Linked DNA regions of Homo sapiens: region 1 is linked to region 2. The links are contacts of gene promoters, found by promoter capture Hi-C in blood cells and fetal thymus (Javierre and others, 2016). All regions are on one chromosome and are shown on one strand. The core of a region is centred on a gene start or on the middle of the fragment in contact, and the rest is flanking DNA. Distances in the headings are between cores, read along the strand shown. Region 1 holds the start of DPH7 (diphthamide biosynthesis 7). Region 2 holds the start of ENTPD8 (ectonucleoside triphosphate diphosphohydrolase 8).

Region 1 (3,117 bases), core at 245-2,744, 140 kb after region 2:
TGACAAATTCTACACCCAGTGGGATTATCACAGTTATACCATTTCATGTCCAGGATTGCAGAAGTATCTTTTCTTTGGACCTCGACCAGAGGGTGAATAGAGTTGTTGTCATTGAAACTGTACAGGAAGAGACGGCCTAAACGGACCTGAGGCTCCTTAACTTCCATTCCACCCTACAAAAAATGCAGAGGTAGTCTCTGATTATCCCAAGACACGAAGGAACCCAAAGGATGGGAAAAGGGATCCAAGGAACTCAAAGGTTTGCCATGACTAAAGGAGTGGAATTCTGCCTGGAAGGAGAACCTCTGGTTTTCTGAGCTGGAGAAACGTCTATTAATGAGTAGGTGAACACTCCTGGACCCAGTAGAGAAGGCTCCTTCTAAACCGGCCAACAGGGACCAGCTATGGCTAGGGTAACCACAGAACCCAGTTTGCCTGGGACAGTCCTGACTTACGCCTGTTGTTCCAGTGCCCAATTTGGATCCTAATATGTACCCACCAGAAGTTAAGATATAATTCCCACTTTCTCTTTACTGTACATTCCACCCATTCCCTTGGGCCACACCTGTATATAGAAGACGTTCTGCTCTCAAGATTTTAAAGTTGGCCGGGGGCGGTGGCTCGTGCCTGTGGTGCCAGCTACTCAGGGGGTTGAGGCGGGAGGATGCCCTGAGCCCTGGAGTCCGAGGCTGCACTCCAGCCTGGGTGACAGTGCAAGACCTTGTCTCAGAAAAAAGTAATTTCTTTTTTTTGAGATGTAGTCTTGCTGTATCGCCCAGGCTGGAATGCAGTGGTGCGATCTCGGCTCACTGCAAGCTCTGCCTCCCGGGTTCACGCCATTCTCCTGCCTCAGCCTCCCGAGTGGCTGGGACTACAGGCGCCGCCACCACGCCCGGCTAATTGTTTTGTATTTTTTTAGTAGAGACGGGGTTTCACCATGTTAGCCAGGATGGTCTCGATCTCCTGACCTCGTGATCCGTCCGCCTCGGCCTCCCAAAGTGCTGGGATTACAGGCGTGAGCCACTGCGCCCGGCCGAGAACAATTTTTTTAAAAAGATTCTAAACTGTTTCCAGCCTACCTCCTGGCCAAAGGGCCAATATCCCCTCTTCATCTCCTGGGCGATTCGGTGCGCCTTTCGGCCTCAACCTCGTGGCCGGCCCCGCCCTCCCCTCCCGAAGCCGCGGCGCGCGCACCTTGTTCTGGGGGCCGGCAGGCCGGTCCTCCGGCCGCCGCAGCTGGTAGGTCCCGCACGCCAGCAGGTGCCTGCAGCCTTGCAGCGGGCACCACTCCACCGAGTCCGCGGTCAGCTCGGTGTCCACCGTTTGCAGGGCGAAACAGCCCATCATCCAGCCCTCGGGGAAGGGCGCGGAGCCGGCAGTAGAGGCGGGTCGGCGGGGCCGGGCTGGGTACTGCGCGGGGCGGCGAGGCCGGGGCCGGCCGGACGAGCGCAGAGCCCCAGGGACACCGTCAGCGCGGGCCGCCTCTCTCGCGACTCCTTCCGGGGTGCCGGGGCGGGACATCCGGCAGGGCCTTGGCCTCCGTGGACGCCCCTGGGAAGCCAGGCTCCCACGCCCCCTGTCGGCCGGCTGACCGCGGCGGGCTTCAGGCGTCAGACGCGCTGCTCCCTGCGGGGCCGTAGAGACCGAAGGCTTCGGGAAATCCGCTCCTCCACAAAGCAGGTTTGGAGACGGCAAGTTAGTGACAGAGCCGTAGGTTTGAAGCCGCCTCTGCAAAATTTCTATCACTGAGAAAAACCCCAACAGCGAGCTGCGGTAGCGCACCCCGTGGCGCCCTCCCGGTTACTCCTGGCCATCGGGCCGCGCTGACTTAACATTTAGGCTGCAGTTTCCATGACAGGCCTTGCCCCGGAATCAACGCCTTCGTAAAGCTGATGAGGAGCCCGCGCCCCACTAAGCCCAGCACCCCGAGGCCGCAGGCGCGCTCTGCCTGCCTCCTGTGAACCCGCCATGGCGGAGCTGCCCCTCAGAGACCGCCTTCCAGGGTCTTTGCTTGTCTGACACCCGTGGCTGCATCAGGACCCCCCAGAAGCGGCTCAGCAGGTGGACGGCTCCGACCCCTATGATTATCAGCACCAGTCGCCTGGCCGCCGCCCCCCTCCCCCAAAACTGCCTTTGAAAAAACCCCTAACCTAGGAGCTTTGGACAAGATGATCTGAGGACGAACTCCATCTCACATGTGGCCTGGCCGGCCCGTGTCTATTAATTTTTTTGTTTTTTTTTTTTGAGACGGAGTCTTGCTCTGTCACCCAGGCTGGAGTGCAGTGGCGCGATCTCAGTTCACTGCAAGCTCCGCCTCCCGGGTTTAAGCCATTCTCCTGCCTCAGCCTCCCCAGTAGCTGGGACTACAGGCGCGCATCACCACGCCCAGCTAATTTTTTGTATTTTTAGTAGAGACGGGGTTTCACCGTGTTAGCCAGGATGGTCTCGATCTTCTGACCTCGTGATCCACCCGCCTCGGCCTCCCAAAGTGCTGGGGTTACAGGTGTGAGCCACTGCGCCCGGCCCTAAACTTTTTTTCTTTATTGCAATCCACGGTCTGAATGTGTGCAGCGGGCAGGAAGAACCCCTTGGGCCGTTACAGGTTGAACTGTGCCCCCCAAAAAACAATGGACTGAAGACCCCAGCACCTCAGAGAGCATCCTTAACAAACAGGGGCTCTCAGAAGCAGCAGGCGTGGGCCCTGACCCAGAGGAGCAGGAGTCCGCAGAAGAGAAAGCTGATGCAGAAGACTTGCAGGGCCATTGCTGTGCAGAGCACAGGGAGGCAGGCAAGGCACCTGGCAGGGAGGAGGCGTCCGCACCTGAGGGCCCTTGCCTGCGCCTTCATCTGAGACTCCGGCCTCCAGAGCCTAGACTGTGAATTCCCGCTGCTTCAGGCTGCACAGCTCGCGCTGCTTTGTTGCGGCAGCTCCAGGAAGCTAAGGCGGACTTGACTGAAATATACGGGTGCCTGGGTATTCAGCCTCAGGGCTTCAAGCAGGGCTGTGGCTAAAGACATGGCAGAGAGCCAACAGCTCAGACCACCACAGAGACAGAGGCGCAGAAAAGGCTGGCCAGGAAGGCAGCAGGGCATTCCAAAAGGGCCTCAACCACACAC
Region 2 (2,865 bases), core at 366-2,865:
GAAGATGTAGCCACCTGAGACCCCCAGGCCTGAGCCTCCAGGTAGGCAAAGAGGTTGGGGCAACCTCTCCCACACTCAAAAGACCCCCAAGACCAGAACAGCCTCCCAGATCAGAACAGCTCCTCAGACCAGGAAAGCGCCCCCCAGACCAGAACAGCCCCCCCGAGACCAGGACAGTGCCCCCAGACCAGGAGAGCCCCCCAGACCAGGACACCCCCTCAGACAGAACAGTCCCCCAGACCAGGACAGCCCCCCAGACCAGGACAGCCCCCCCCAGACCAGGAGAGCCCCCCAGACCAGGACACCCCCTCAGACAGAACAGTCCCCCAGACCAGGACAGCCCCCCCAGACCAGGACAGCCCCCCAGACCAGGACAGCCCCCCCAGACCAGGACAGCCCCCCCAGACCAGGAGAGTCCCCCAGGCCAGGACATCCCCTCACACAGAACAGTCCCTGAGACCAGGACAGCCCCCCCAGACCAGGACACCCCCTCACACAGAACAGACTCCCAGATCAGGACAGCCCCCCAGACCAGGACAGCCCCCCAGACCAGGACAGCCCCCGCCAGACCAGGACAGCCCCCCCCAGACCAGGAGAGCCCCCCAGACCAGGACACCCCCTCACACAGAACAGATTCCCAGACCAGGACAGCCCCCAGACCAGGACAGCCCCCCCCAGACCAGGACAGCCCCCCAGACCAGGACAGCCCCCCCCCAGACCAGGAGAGCCCCCCAGGCCAGGACACCCCCTCAGACAGAACAGTCCCCCAGACCAGGACAGCCCCCCAGACCAGGACAGCCCCCCCCAGACCAGGAGAGCCCCCCAGACCAGGACACCCCCTCAGACAGAACAGTCCCCCAGACCAGGACAGCCCCCCCAGACCAGGACAGCCCCCCAGACCAGGACAGCCCCCCCAGACCAGGACAGCCCCCCAGACCAGGACAGCCCCCCCCAGACCAGGACAGCCCCCCCAGACCAGGACAGCCCCCCAGACCAGGACAGCCCCCCCAGACCAGGACACCCCCTCAGACAGAACAGTCCCCCAGACCAGGACAGCCCCCCCAGACCAGGACAGCCCCCCAGACCAGGACAGCCCCCCCAGACCAGGACAGCCCCCCAGACCAGGACAGCCCCCCCCAGACCAGGACAGCCCCCCAGACCAGGACAGCCCCCCAGACCAGGACAGCCCCCCCAGACCAGGACACCCCCTCAGACAGAACAGTCCCCCAGACCAGGACAGCCCCCCCAGACCAGGACAGCCCCCCAGACCAGGACAGCCCCCCCAGACCAGGACAGCCCCCCAGACCAGGACAGCCCCCCAGACCAGGACAGCCCCCCAGACCAGGACAGCCCCCCCAGACCAGGACACCCCCTCAGACAGAACAGTCCCCCAGACCAGGACAGCCCCCCCAGACCAGGACAGCCCCCCAGACCAGGACAGCCCCCCCAGACCAGGACAGCCCCCCAGACCAGGACAGCCCCCCAGACCAGGACAGCCCCCCAGACCAGGACAGCCCCCCCAGGACATCCCTTTGGACCCTCACCTGGGCTGGCTGCCCACTTCCCGGAGCGGCAAGGAGGAAGCTGTGCTTAGACGCTTCTGTGTCCGCGCACCTGGCGTCCAGCCTCTCCCTGCCCCTGGGTCCAGGACAGCTGGGGTGGGCGGGGCAGGGCGGTGACAGCCTCGGGCGATGCGCTGTGCACCTGGCTCCAGGGCCCGCAGGCTGAGGCCAGCGCCCAAGGTCGCCCCGCCCACTCCACCCTCGGGTCCCCCGCCCAGGGTCTCCCCGCATCTCCCACCCGCGGGTCTGTCTCGGTGCCCAGGGTCGCCCCGCCCCCGGGGGGGTGGGAGGCAGGAGAGGGAAGCTGAGGAGGAGCCTGGAGCTGCGAGGGGCAGAACTCCGGGACCCCGCCCCCCACGGCCCGCAGCCGCGCTCCTGACCCCGGCCCGGACTTTACCCCCCGTGCCGCCCGGCCCGGGCAGGTCGGAGTCAGGTGACCCCGAAGGTCCAGGCCCGGGGCGGGGGCGGAAGCGCCTGCAGCCCCGCGGCGCCCGTCGTTTTCCATTTGCAGCCACTCTGCCTTTCCCGCTCGCCGTGGGTCCCGGGGCCGCCGCCGTCGGGGTCCGGGCCTCTGAAGCGGGGCGGGGCTGGGGGAGGCGCGGAGCCAGGGCCGGGCTGGGTGGGGCTGGGGGTGTTGGGGGGCGGGGAATAGGGTGGGGGAATGCGGGGGGGCGGTGAATTCCTTTCTGTGTGAGATCCAAGAACCCTCTTGGGGTCTCAATCGGGACTCTCTTTACTGGTAGCATATTTGGTGTCATGTGTGTGCATTTTTGTGCTTTTTCTTGGTGATTTCACTGTTTATAATGGCGTCTCAGCATAGTGCAGAAATGCAAGAAGGCTGAGATGCACTTTACAGAGAAAACACACATTGGATAAGCTTCATTCGTGCAAGAGTTAGCGCTGTTGGCCATGAGTTCAATGTTAGTGATACAATACATATTAAGTAAGGTGCCCTTAAACAAAAATACACATAAAAGAAGGTTTTATTAATATATTGATCATTTAACAAAAATGTGACCAGAAGCTTGCAGGAACAGAACTTTGCATTTCCCTTAGGAGCAATAGTTTAGCATATTCTTTAATTCAGTGTTTGCAGCAACTTTATACACTAGCTGCCATGGGTCATAAGAGTCAAATGTGTTTGTTGAGGATTTTTGCAGTTGTGTTCAACAAAGTTGCATAGTTTTCTTTTTTAGTCCTGGTTTCTGTATGGGGATAATGCTGGGCTTATAAAATGAGTCTGGGAAGTTGTCCTTTTTTTTTTTTTTTTTTGAGATGGAGTCTCGCTCTGTCACCCAGGCTA

Evidence for each region. Contacts are between HindIII fragments. The CHiCAGO score rates a contact against its expected background, and 5 or more counts as called.
Region 1: a contact is called between the fragment with the promoter of DPH7 here and the fragment with the promoter of ENTPD8 in region 2, in 4 of 17 cell types (non-activated CD4 T cells, naive CD8 T cells, total CD4 T cells and 1 more). The highest score is 6.9, in non-activated CD4 T cells.

The regions. Positions count from the first base shown.
Region 1 is chr9:137,577,431-137,580,547 of GRCh38, forward strand. DPH7 (diphthamide biosynthesis 7) reads right to left here and starts at 1,495. Exons shown (of 9, transcript NM_138778.5): 1 at 1,195-1,495; 2 at 40-173. The coding sequence starts at 1,347. RefSeq lists a silencer at 1,181-1,590 and enhancers at 1,775-2,746, 1,841-1,900. The HindIII fragment of the contact is 6,073 bases long and covers 1-3,117 here.
Region 2 is chr9:137,439,742-137,442,606 of GRCh38, forward strand. It overlaps ENTPD8 (ectonucleoside triphosphate diphosphohydrolase 8), which reads right to left and starts at 1,616. Exons shown (of 10, transcript NM_001033113.2): 1 at 1,545-1,616. RefSeq lists a silencer at 1,476-1,770. The HindIII fragment of the contact is 13,084 bases long and covers 1-2,437 here.